Regions from separate parts of the Homo sapiens genome. Here all the other regions are linked to region 3. Evidence: promoter capture Hi-C in 16 types of primary human blood cells and fetal thymus (Javierre and others, 2016). All regions are on one chromosome and are shown on one strand. The core of a region is centred on a gene start or on the middle of the fragment in contact, and the rest is flanking DNA. Distances in the headings are between cores, read along the strand shown.

Region 1 (2,961 bases), core at 31-2,530, 120 kb after region 3:
AAGTGAGAATCCTTTCCAGGTGAAATCCAAACTCCCTTTTGGGACTTTGAGAAAAGTAGAGTGTTGGAGTTCAGAAAGATTACTATAGTCAGAACTGTCATCGGGTACTGTGGCTTGTGTAAGGGTGTTATTCACAAGCATCCATAGGTGGTAGAAATTTGTATCAATATGTCTGGGACTTCATGCCATAGGCTGGGTTTCCTGAAGAGGAGGTAGGGAGTTTGTCATGCAGGATCCTTACTAAGGGGTACCTTTGGGACAATACCTGTGGGGTAGGCGAGGGAAGCAACAGCAGGCAGAGGGAGACTCAAGCAGCAAGGAAGGCCCCACGACAGCCTCTGCTTTGGAGCAAGAGCAAGCGCAAGCACAAGCACAGCCCTTCAGAGCTGTCCCCAGTCTGGTGAGATAGTCAGGTTTTCCTGCTCTGCAACTGTCATTCGTTAGATGAGGGTTGCCTGGGACAGGTGTGGTGTGGAGTGCAGGTCTGTGCAGCCACCAAATCCCTGAAAGGGCTGATTGCTGAAGGCTGCCTGCCCACAGCCCTCACTGAGGGGATCTGGGTGCTGCTGCATCACAGCGCCTGGCTCATTGCCTTGCTCACCTGTGATGTGGGCTCTGATGTGGTGCAGATGGCAGTAGGGCTGAGCTTATAGGAGGCAGGAGCTTGTCCCTGGGGAGGGGTGCGAGGAAGGGCCAGTGGTATCTGCACAACAGAGGCCCCTTCTTTTTCTTGGAAGAGTGAGCCCAGTTCTGAACAGTGATGGGAGGCCAGAGTCAGCTCTCCTGGCTCGATTCCAGGTCTCTGGAAACATGTGGCCTGCTTTGGAGTGGCCGGCCATGGGGAGGCCTCCAGATGGCCGCAAGGGCTCCCCGCTCAGCCACACCCACATTTCCTCAGCATCCTCAGTCCAGTTCTGAGGGCACCCTCTGGGCTGGAGCTGGAGTGATGCTTGTAGCTGCATTGCCTGGAGGGTGTAGAATGATGAGTGTTTTGGGCTGCTGTCTCTCCTGACTCCAGAAGCTGGGGTCACTGAGGAGAGAGAGTCAGATCTGCATTTGAGCTGGCCCTGACTTGGGTCCAGGCCTGACTGGAGGGCTGGCCATTGCCAGTGTTGTTGTTGGCATTCCCTGTGAACCTCTGTGTGACTGAGTCCATCAGGGTCTGAGTCCATGGTGCTCCCTACCCCCCAAACACCCCTCAGGGCAGAATTAATTGCTTTCTTACCTGTCTGAAGTTTGGCACTGTTTCCATCTAATAGCTCAATGCCTGTCTGTCTCCCTGTTCTTTCACTTGTTCACCCAACATGCATTGTAGTGCCAGCATACAGTTAGTGACCCCCAAAGACCTCAAGGGTCTCCAGGAGGTCTGACAGGACCCTTTGCCTGTGTCAGTCTTTGTTAAATGTGGGGATTTGGAATTGAGCCATTTCAGGGTCAAGTCTGGAGTTAGGGGAGCTAAAGGGGGTTGATTCTGTGCGTACCCCTTGTCCCAATCAGCCCCTGAGTCCCAGGTGGTTTCTAACCTTCTCTTGTTTTGGCTGATGGGAGCTGGGGCAGTGGGAGGGTCTGGCTGCCCATCTGCCTGAGCTTCCCAGTGTCTAGGATGCAGGGGCCTCTCTCTGTGAGGGTGCCTGTGTCTGCCTGAGCAGTCCAGTCACAGGTGGGACCCCTCACCTTCCTATATGAGGTCTGCAACATGTCCCCATTTCAGTGTTGGGGGAGAAAGAGAAGCATTTACTATTTTCTGGAACCACTGTCTCCAGCGTGTCCTGGCGCGGAAGTCTAGCAGGGCGGGCTCAGGGTGTGGCATGCCACATTGTCAGGGTAGTCACAGCATTTAGCAGTGTGTGCCGCTGGGAGGTTCTGTGCTACAATACATATTTTAAAAACTAGAGCAGTGGCCCAAGGGGAGGATGTAAGGCAGTTGGCCACAGGCTGACCTTTAGATGCTTTGTTGGAGGGTTAAATGCCAGTGGAGCTGCCCCGGGAAACTTGGCAGCCCCTCAGGTGTACCACATAGCCCACTGGGCAGGGAGGACCCTGTGTAAGCATAGATGAGGGCTCAAGTTGACATCATCTGCATTTGTGTTCAAAGTAAGTGGTAGGAGACCTGTGGGCTCCATTCTTAGTGATACCAGGCTCTGCTACAGGGGCTGTGACTGCTTTTCAGAGCTACAGCCTTGCTCCTCCAGAGCCTGGAGGGGACCATGAGCACTGTGGGCCTGCACTCTGTAGTGTGAGGCCTCAGCCCTGGTGGTGCTCTCTCTGGAGGGGCTGAGGCCCTGTGTGTGAGTCGAGTGTCTCCCAGCTGTGAGGCATGCAGAAAAGGTGGATTTGAGGATTTTAATGCATGAAGGCAGTGGGAAGCTAAGAAATAAAGTTCTAGTTCTAGAAATCTGTGAGGCAGTGCTTCAGGTTTAAGGAAGTAATCAGGTCACCTGGAAAGTGGCAGCTGTCTCTACCTAGGTTGAAGGGCTCAGCAGCTCTGCCTAGTGTTGTCTGATGGGGCTTGGAGCTGGCTTTTGCCAAGAGTCCTCTGCCTGTGTGACCAGCCTTTTGTCTTTGTCAGCTTGGGCTGCTGTAACAAAGGACCATAGATGGTTTGGCCTAAACAATAGGCATGTGTTTCCCTTCTGGAGGCTGGAAGGCCACCTTCAAGTTCCTGATGAGAGCTCTCTTCCTGGCTTGCAGATGGCCTCTTCCTGGCTGTGTCTTCACGTGGAGGAGAGAAGGGGAGCTCTGGTCCCTCTTTGTTTTTTGTTTTTGTTTTTTTTAAATAACAGCATGAATCCCATCATGAGGCCTCCACCTCCATGATCTGATCTAAACCTAATTACCTCCAAATACCATCACATTGGGGGTTAGAGCTTCAACATATGAATTTGGGGGTGGAGGGCATAAATTCAGTCCACAGCGCCTTTGGAATGCCTCCTCAGTTCCCAGCTATGTGAAAAGAAACAT
Region 2 (2,889 bases), core at 104-2,603, 86 kb after region 3:
AGGCAGACAGGCTCCTGAGTGGGAAGAGGAGGGTCCCCAGTGAAGCCCCACATTCAAGCCAGGGACAGCCTGAAGCCTAGGGGCTGGGCTGTCAGTTACAGATGGAGTCCACAGCCTGGAGTGAGAACTTATGGTACTTTTTCCAGGCCCACCTATGGCTGCCCACGGTCAGCACACACTTCCTCCCTTCTAAGCCCATAAAAACCCCAGACTCCCACAGACATCAGGACTACCAGCTGCAGGAAGGAAGGGACGACCTACTTTGGGTCTCCTCAACTTGTCGGGACAACCTGCCTGTGGACAGGAGCTACCCACCCTGGGTCTCATCTCCATTGAGAGCTGGACACTCATCAGGATGCCCTGCCTTCAGAAAGGAGCTACCCACTCCGGATCTCCTCTCTGCTGAGGGCTGCATTCATCAGAACTACCTCCCTGTGGAAACAAACTACCCACTCTGGGTCTCCTGAGAGCTGTTCTGTCACTCATTAAAATTCCTCTCCATCTTTCTCACTCTCCAGTTGCCAACGTACCTCATTCTTCCTGGACATGGGACAAGAACTCACCACATGGTGTGACTGAAAGAGCTGTAACACAAACAGGGCTGAAACATGCCCCCCAACCCCCCACTCACCGTGTTGTGGGCAACAAGAAGGAGAGAAGACCTGTGGCCCTTCAGGAAGCCCAGACATAGGGGGTCCCTGAGCCAGGGCTGTGACACCTTCTTTGGAGCTCTGTGGTTCCTGGTATTGCCAAGCTTCCAGGCACCACCATGCTCCCCTCGTCCAGACATAGGTAACCACAGAGGAAGCCGCCTGCAGTACATCTTATCCAGATGCAGCCTTGCACAGAGTTGGTGCCTGTGCCAGTGCCTGGAGCTGCCTGTCCCATAGCAGCAGCCAGTTCACCTGGCTGTGCACAGTGGCTGGACCCCACACTCACTCCACTTTGCTACTGGCTCACCCTTGTCAGGTGTAAGATCCCGGCCAGTAGCACGAGCTGAGTGCAGCCTGCCAGGCCAAGTGGGCAGAATGAGCCAAGTGGGCCTGAGCAAAAACTCAGGCAAAGGCACCACCAGCCACAGAGGTTTCCAACTGCAAAAGCAACAACCTAAGGATCCTGAGGCAGCTTGAGAGACAATGGAGAGTAAGACAGCAATAGACAGAGGCAGGGCTGTGGAGCGACGCAGGCCTCCAAAGAAGAGAGAAGTTTCCATTCCTGAAGCCTTCTGGAATCTGAAGTTTGCTGCCTGGACTGCCCGGTTTTAGTGGAAGAAAGCTTGCATGGGTCTCTGTTTGTTGCTACCAAAGACTCTTGGCTAGAGCAACGTGGATGAAGGAAGGTTGAACCAAAGACATGACAGTGGTTCCGAGGGGCTGGGCAGCCTTTGTGGCCTCCCACCACCACCTCAATTAAGCCAAGCGGTGGATGAAGAGAAGCTTCTGGGCTGTCAAGTGCCTGCTTCTTAAAATCACTTTGGAGAACCCAGGGAGTGCAGGAGGCAAAGCAGCGCCCCCTGCGTGAGTCATCCCCATTTGAGCAGCCTTCCCACCCCGACCTGAGACACAAGGCCACACTTAGCATCGAGGGAGACCAAGTGATGTACCCAGCTTCAAGCCAGGCTTTGTTACAGAGAAGAAAGGAAGGGTAGATGTTGGCATAGCAACCAGCATTGTCTGCAACTCTCTCTGCTGCGTGTCTCCCCATCAGATGCCCCCTGGGAACAGGGTGCCTGAGTGCGACTCTTAGGCCTGTATGATAAAACTGGACTTCTAATTCCCTCTTTCACGTAAATCAGAGCCAGTCATATCATTTCTGCCCACAACCCAACAGCCGTAGCGAGCCACAGGGCCCTACCTGACTGCAGATGGCTGGACGCATGGGGAGCAGAAGGAAGGTAATGAACAACACCACCTCCACCAGCCTTTAACAGGAGTGACGTGGCTCTACGTGCGCTTACAGAAAAGGCCTTCAAGACCTGCCGTTAGCTGGAAAAATAAGAAGAGCAAGCTACAAAACTCACATAGAATATGATCCCACTTGGGTAAGAAATGGTTCAATTAACCCTTAATAGGCCAGGCATAGTGGCTTGTGCATGTAATTCCAGCACTTTGGGAGGCCAAGGCAGTGGGTTGCTTGAGCTGACGAGTTTGAGACCAGCCTGAGCAACATGGTGAAAACTCATGTCTACAAAAAATACAAAAACAAGCCAGGGGTGGTGGCACATGCCTGTGGTCCAGCTACTCAGGAAGCTGAAGTGGGAGGATCACTTGAGCCCAGGAGGTGGAGGTTGCAGTGAGCCAAGAATGTGTCACTGTACTCCAGCCTGGGTGACAGAGCCAGACTCTGTCAAGAAAGAAAAGGAAGGAAGGAAGGAAGAAAGGAAGGAAGGAAGGAAGGAAGGAAGGAAGGAAAGAAGGAAGGGAGGGAGGGAGGGAGGGAAGGGAAGGGAAGGAAGGAAAGAGAGACAGAGAGATGAAAGAAGAAAAAAAAGAAAGAAAGAAAGAAGAAAGGAAGGAAGGAGAGAGGGAGGGAGGAGGAAGGAAAAAGAAAGTGAGAGAAAGGAAGGAGGGAAGGAAGGAAGAAGGAAGGAAGGAGAAAGAGAAAGAGAGAAAGAAGGAAAGAAAAAGAAAGAAAGAAAGGGTTCAAGATGCAGATATGGACACATGGCTATATTAGCTTCCAATTGCTGCTGTGACAAATTACCACAAACCTGGTGAAAACAACACACATTTGTTATCTTACAGTTCTGGAGGTGAAACATCTAAAATCGAGGTGTCACCAGGGCTGCATTCCTTCTGGAGGCTTCAGGGGAATCTGTTTCCTGTGTTTTTCAGCCTCCAGAGGCTGCCCGAGTTCCTTGGCTTGTGGCCACTTCCTCCATCTTCACTA
Region 3 (2,834 bases), core at 144-2,643:
AACAGTGTCTTGCACATAGGGACACAAATGTCTGTTAAATGAAGAAAGTAGGGATGCCAGGCCACCCAATGGGGTGTATCTCCTAGGGTTCAAGAACAAGGGCTAATCAAGTCAAGAGAATGTGTGCCCTCCCCCACCATCTCACCCCTCACTCTCAGAACACTTGGGGCCCCTGCACAGGTGGTAGGCATGCTGGCCCTGAGTGCCCTCCCAGCCTGTGTTAGAAGAACCAGTGGATGACCTCGCTGTCAGCTGTCTCCCCTTCTCTGAGCTTACTGCAGGTGGCAGCAGCCTCTCAGCCACAGACTGTTCCCTTTCCTAGGAGAAAACGATGGTCACTCAGCAATGCTGTGCGCTTGCAGCTTCCACCACAAAAGAGACAGCTGTGGCCGCAGCACCAGGGTGGTGATTCTTCCCCCTCCAAGGGCAGTGGTGCATTCCTTAGCACAAGTATAAATTTACTGTTGCTAAGAGTTCTCGGAACAGGATAATACAAGAAGGAACCACTGCAAGTGAAATCCAGCCACCAGTAATGCCGAGAGGCCAGGCCTGTGCCTCCCAAAACCTGCTCCTCCGCAGGCTTCCCCGGCCCATCTCCAGAGCGCCCTCCTCTCACCACTTTACATAAACGAATGTACCCAAGATCCCCCATCAGTTTTCCATGCAGCTGCCAGAGTGCCACCAAAGCAAACCTCATCTCAAGACTCTGTGGCCAGGCCCTCACAACCTCCTGCCAGGCTCTCGCTACCTACCCATCAACAGCAAGACTCCCAGGCCATCTCAATCCCCCCAAAGAGCCCTGTTCCTCCAGCCCCACGGCTTCTGTTCACCTGCCGTGCTGTCCCCGCCTCTGCCCACCCACTCATCCTGCAGATCTGGAGCAGCATTCCAGGGCCTGGTAAGTGTGCGCCATTTTGGGTTACTACGGGTCTCGCCAGGCGCGGTGGCGAGTTTTGCCCCCCACGCTCCCCAGCGCCTGCACCTGGGCGGAGAGGTAGATAAGGCTGGGAGATCTTAGCCTTTTGCAAGGCAAACACCAGGCAGGAACGCCCAGAACCTCGGAGGAGGAGGAGGGGAAGATCCCCAGGTGGAGACCAAGGTGCCCCTCACGCTGAGTCGTCTAGGAGACCCTCCCTAGTTTAAAAAGTGTTTATTTGCTCGGAGAACATTTCAGGAGGCCTTCCTGGGACCCCAAGTGTGCCGCCCCCCGGGAGGGGCCTGGAGACGCCCGCGCGGCCCCCCTGCAAAGTTTTACCGGCCCTGGGCGCCCCCGGCCCTGGCACCCACGCGGGGAGCCGCAGTGGGCCGGGCCGCGCGGCCGCCGCCTCCCACCGCTCCCGCGCCCGCTCCCGCCCCCGGCGCGTCTCCTCCGGGCCCGCGCCGCGGCGGGCTCAGTCCTCAGCGGGGCGCGTGGCGAGCGGACTCGACTCGGCACCGCTGTGCACCATGGCCCGGGCCCTGTGCCGCCTCCCGCGGCGCGGCCTCTGGCTGCTCCTGGGTGAGTAGGTCCAGGGGTCCCGGCCGAGCTCCCTTCCCCTGGCCAGCCGGTGTCCTCTAGGGGAGAGGAGGGGAGCGGGTGGGAGCGGGTGGGAGCGGGTGGGGGCGGGCGCCGCGGGCGCACAGATCCGCTGCCCTTGAACGCGGGCCGCCCCGGTTCCAGGCGGGAGGCCCCAGGGCACAGGGGAGGCGGAGGGCGCGGACCGGTGTTGCGCTTCTCGCCGGGGAAGGGACGGCTTTGGGGACGTCGGAGAGCGGGCATTCTGGAAAGCGTGGGGTGAGTCAGCCCTGCACACTGGAGAACTAGTTTTCAGAAGGAAAAACAGGACGCGGGGTTCCCCAGCCCCGCACCTCGTTTCTCAGGCTGTGCGCCGCGGTGACTGCCAGCGCAGGCTCCCTTCCCTAGGCCGTCCCGCGTTGCAAAACCTGCAGACGGGCACCTTGCAGAAGACGCAGTGTTCGGGAATCAGAACCACAGCCGGTTTGTATGGAAATTAGTCAACACTGACAATCTGTCGCCTGCAGCAGTTGCTTGTTTGCAAATCACGTCTTTTGCAGAAATGAGGCCAGCCCTTTTCGGGACACTTCCATCGCTTTTTTTCTTTTTTCTTTTGGTTTGCTTGTTAACTTGGCACTTTTGGCTAATAGAAATTTAAAGAAGGACGGGTCCCTTGGTGAAGTGGTGGAACACGTTTGGCTTTCCACTTGGAGGGAGAAGTGGAGATTAGCGGCAGCCTCATGGCCACAGGAACTGGCCACACACTCGGCAAGAAACGGTGCTGTTCACTTCCCTTGTCTGTAATGTGTTCCTAAAATGCTAACTCAAGCCCCTTCTAAACCGCTTTGGCTATTGCATTATTCCGTGTATTTAGCTACCTTTTAACGGAAACTGTGAATAGGTTACTGGCGTGGGAGAACCCAGTGTCCCTGGGAAGGCCGGAGCAGTTGTTTCTGGTATGTGTGGCCTTTCCCCGGAAACAGTGATGTTGGTCAGAGGCACCTGCCGCACAAGACCTCTTTGGCGCTGGCACTGGGCAAGCAGGGACCACCGGCGCTGTTGTAGCTGGGGGAGTGGTTCGTGGCCCAGCGAGGAGAGGGGCCAGGGCTTCTTGGGAGCCATGGATTTCTGTTCCCTATTTGTAAACCTCTCCAAGGGGTGGCAGATCTGCATAGAATCCTCAGAGGCCGATATAATATAATCTGAAAGCGGATCTTGCCACTTTAGAGTTTTGGCTGAAGTTACGTGGAAAGCAGAATCTCGCAGTAATTTTATTCTCTCCATTTGGCTTGACATGGCCTTCACTGTTTTCATTTACTAAGAAACAAACATTTCTTTG
Region 4 (2,955 bases), core at 417-2,916, 100 kb after region 3:
CACATTTGATGGTCCTGTAGGGCTTTGCCAGTTCTGGGGTCACTTGATGGGCAGCCAGGAAGGAGGAAGAACCACAGGACTACCATGTCCCTATTCCAGTCCCCATGCACAGACCTTATTAAAAGGAGCCCATTGTTGCTGTAGGTGAATGATGACGATCTCAATCCTATCATCAGATTTAAAACACCACTCTGACTCAGTCCCTCTCCAACAAAGCCATCACAGCCCACTGTATTATTTTTTTTTAAGAAATAAAAAGAAACAAGCTGTATTCCCTGGAGGCCAGTTGCAAAAGCAAAACTTAATTATACCAGTTATGTAATTAAAATTATACTACTTAGAATTTTCAATTGTCTGCTTCCTGGATGACCCCTTACTAAATAATAATAACGATGATAATCTGAGCCCCCATCTGCCCCAGCTATGGGAAGTTCATCCCTCCCTCATGCCACGGAGGACCCCAGAACTGGGACTTGGGTGTCACCTCTCAGCTTCTGCCCCTCAGACAGCCTCACAGCACTCCACACCACCTCCGGCTGCTTTGTAGTCTCATCTTTGTCCTCCTCTCCAGGTTAGACCCCAGGCCCCAAAAGGCCCAATAAAGCTTTTCCTAACAGAAACACCATTTACCTGTCTCCCCTTTTAGCAAGAGAATGAGCTAGTGGGACATGGGATTTTTGGCATTTATTTTCAGCTTCCTCAGTTGAATTCTAAGGCAAGGCTTACCGTCAGCACAGTTCTCTCTCCCTCCTTTCCCCAGTGATCCCTAAACTCATGTGGGTCAGTGGAGGCTTTGTTCCCCCCTGTCTGGAACAAACCTTAGCGGCCACAGTTGTATCCCTGCCCCTATTCTGTGGTGGTTTACTAAATGCTAGTTTCTCCCATTAGCTGAGGCTTTTGGAGGGCAGGGTCTGTCCCCAACGACACTCAGCCCTTGACAGGTACTTATTATATAGTGCCTGATTTGGATTGAAGTAGATTTGAGAAGGCTCCACAGGGACATGGGGCCTGTATGTGTCCAGGCCTGCACTTGAGTGTCCTGGGCCTTGCTCCCCAGGAACACCAGATGAAGCCGGAGGGCAGATGCACACCTGGGAGTAATCTAGAACAACACAAAACAAGTGGAGCAAGGGCTGGCCAAGGGCTGTGTTGCACCCTTTCTCCCATGTCTACTCCCACGGGAGTTCAGCATCCCCTGGGCTGTTTCCCAATTCACACAACAAGGGCTTGCACCTGGAACATGGCTAAGGTCTTGCCTGGGGTAAGGACACTGTGTCTGGAGGAAGGGGCATGAGCACTGGACCCACTGGGCTTGGTGATGCCAGCTCACCCAGACTGCAGATCGTACCTCTGGAGGCCAATCTTCCACTGAAGCCCGGAGCCAGGAATGCCTACCCCAGTGGGGAATGAATGGAGTGTGCCCCACCCACAGTGAGGGCAGGAGGGAAGAGTGGAGTGGACGGCTAAATGCAGTGGATGCCCCTCCAGGGCTTTCCTGGAAGCAAGGGACACAATGTTTGTTTCTCCAAAATTCATATGTTGATGCCCTAACCCACAGTGTGCTGTATTTGGAGATGGGGCCTCTATGAAAGCAATTAAGGTTAAATGAGGCCCTAACCTGGGGCCCTGACCTGGCAGGATTCGAATCCTTATAAGGAGACAACAGAGAGCTCTCATGCTTGCGTGCCCACTCTCTCTCTCTCTGCCCCAGCACACAGAGGCCGTGTGAGCACAGCCAGATGGCGGCTGCTTACAAGCAAGAGGAGGCCTCAGAACGAACCCTACCTTGCCAGACCTTGATCTTGAACTACCCAGCCTCCAGACTGTGAGAAAATAAACATCTGTTGTGTAAGCCACCCAGTCTGTGGTATTTTATGGCAGCCTAAGCAGAATAAGATGCTGGCAGAGGCCACTTTTCCTGCCTGGGAGACCCTTCCCTCACCCCACAGGTTCCCAGGTCCCTGCACCAGCCCAGGCCAGAGTGCTGCCAGCCCTGGACCAGGCTGAAAATATAGATAGCCCAGGCCATCTCCCCTTCCACATCCTAGCTGGAAGCCTCTGGGGTTGAACTTACAGGGGTGAGGGAGGAAGGGATGCGAGGACATTGTCTCCCCCTGCCCTTCCTTGGGCAACAACACTCCTCTGTGAGGCTCACAGTTGAACTTCCACCCCACTCCCACACACACACACAGTGGTTCTGTGACTGAAGCAGAGCCAGTCCCTCCCAGAGAACATGAAAGTTACAGTTAGGGGCACCAGCCCCCTTTATGTCCTGGATTGTGGAGATGTCTGAGCCCAGGCCCTAGCTCCCTGGAGGCACCTGGTAGGGCAAGGCCAGCCCACAGAGGCCAGGACTCAGGTGACAGGCCTGCAGGCAATACACTCATGGCACCATCTCCAGCTTCCCAGAGCTTACCTCAAGTTCTTTGTATCAGCTGCCTCAAGGTGTGCTGGCTGAGGGCAAATCTCAGAGTCAGACTGCCTGGCTTTAAATCCTAGCTCTGCCATTGTTGGAAATGGGAGTTCGGTGTGGCAAAATCAACACTGAGACAAAGGATCTCTCAGCAAGGCTAGTTTAGTTTCTGCAGAAAGGGTGCCGCTCGCTAGCAGTCTTGCCATGAGAGCACACCTGAACAAAGGAGATGGGGACATTTATAATCTTTGTAACCTGATGCAATCGTCCTATGGCTGTGTCCCATTTCCATTGGCCAGAATGGGACCTCACATTCTAAGCTTGACCTGATTGGCTAACAGCTTGAAACTTTTCTAAATAGGTAAAGAGGAAAGAGGACAAAGGAAAGAGGAAGCTAGTCATGAGAGGGTCAGGAGGGTTTCCAAATAAGCTATGGCAGGCACTATGGTCCCGGGCTGCCTTAACCCTGTCCAGGCATGCCAGGTCAAGTCAGAGCAGCTGCACTGGAACATATATAGATATGCATAAAGCAAAGAAATGAC

Evidence for each region. Contacts are between HindIII fragments. The CHiCAGO score rates a contact against its expected background, and 5 or more counts as called.
Region 1: a contact is called between a fragment that was not itself captured here and the fragment with the promoter of RAMP1 in region 3, in 4 of 17 cell types (megakaryocytes, M1 macrophages, M0 macrophages and 1 more). The highest score is 12.9, in megakaryocytes.
Region 2: a contact is called between a fragment that was not itself captured here and the fragment with the promoter of RAMP1 in region 3, in 1 of 17 cell types (megakaryocytes). The highest score is 6.8, in megakaryocytes.
Region 4: a contact is called between a fragment that was not itself captured here and the fragment with the promoter of RAMP1 in region 3, in 1 of 17 cell types (megakaryocytes). The highest score is 5.7, in megakaryocytes.

What each region holds. Positions count from the first base shown.
Region 1 is chr2:237,977,709-237,980,669 of GRCh38, forward strand. All of the region lies in intron 2 of UBE2F (ubiquitin conjugating enzyme E2 F (putative)), which reads left to right. All of the region lies in intron 2 of UBE2F-SCLY (UBE2F-SCLY readthrough (NMD candidate)), which reads left to right. Among named protein-coding and RNA genes, the nearest start is that of UBE2F, 12 kb to the left of the region's middle. The HindIII fragment of the contact is 4,484 bases long and covers 1-2,961 here.
Region 2 is chr2:237,944,047-237,946,935 of GRCh38, forward strand. LOC124908001 (a long non-coding RNA gene) reads left to right here and starts at 1,416. Exons shown (of 2, transcript XR_007088146.1): 1 at 1,416-2,041. The HindIII fragment of the contact is 161 bases long and covers 1,274-1,434 here.
Region 3 is chr2:237,858,230-237,861,063 of GRCh38, forward strand. It overlaps RAMP1 (receptor activity modifying protein 1), which reads left to right and starts at 1,394. Exons shown (of 3, transcript NM_005855.4): 1 at 1,394-1,498. The coding sequence starts at 1,447. RefSeq lists an enhancer at 1-781. The HindIII fragment of the contact is 3,458 bases long and covers 1-2,834 here.
Region 4 is chr2:237,960,056-237,963,010 of GRCh38, forward strand. It overlaps LOC124908001 (a long non-coding RNA gene), which reads left to right. Exons shown (of 2, transcript XR_007088146.1): 2 at 1,712-1,856. Among named protein-coding and RNA genes, the nearest start is that of UBE2F-SCLY, 5.4 kb to the right of the region's middle. The HindIII fragment of the contact is 2,129 bases long and covers 603-2,731 here.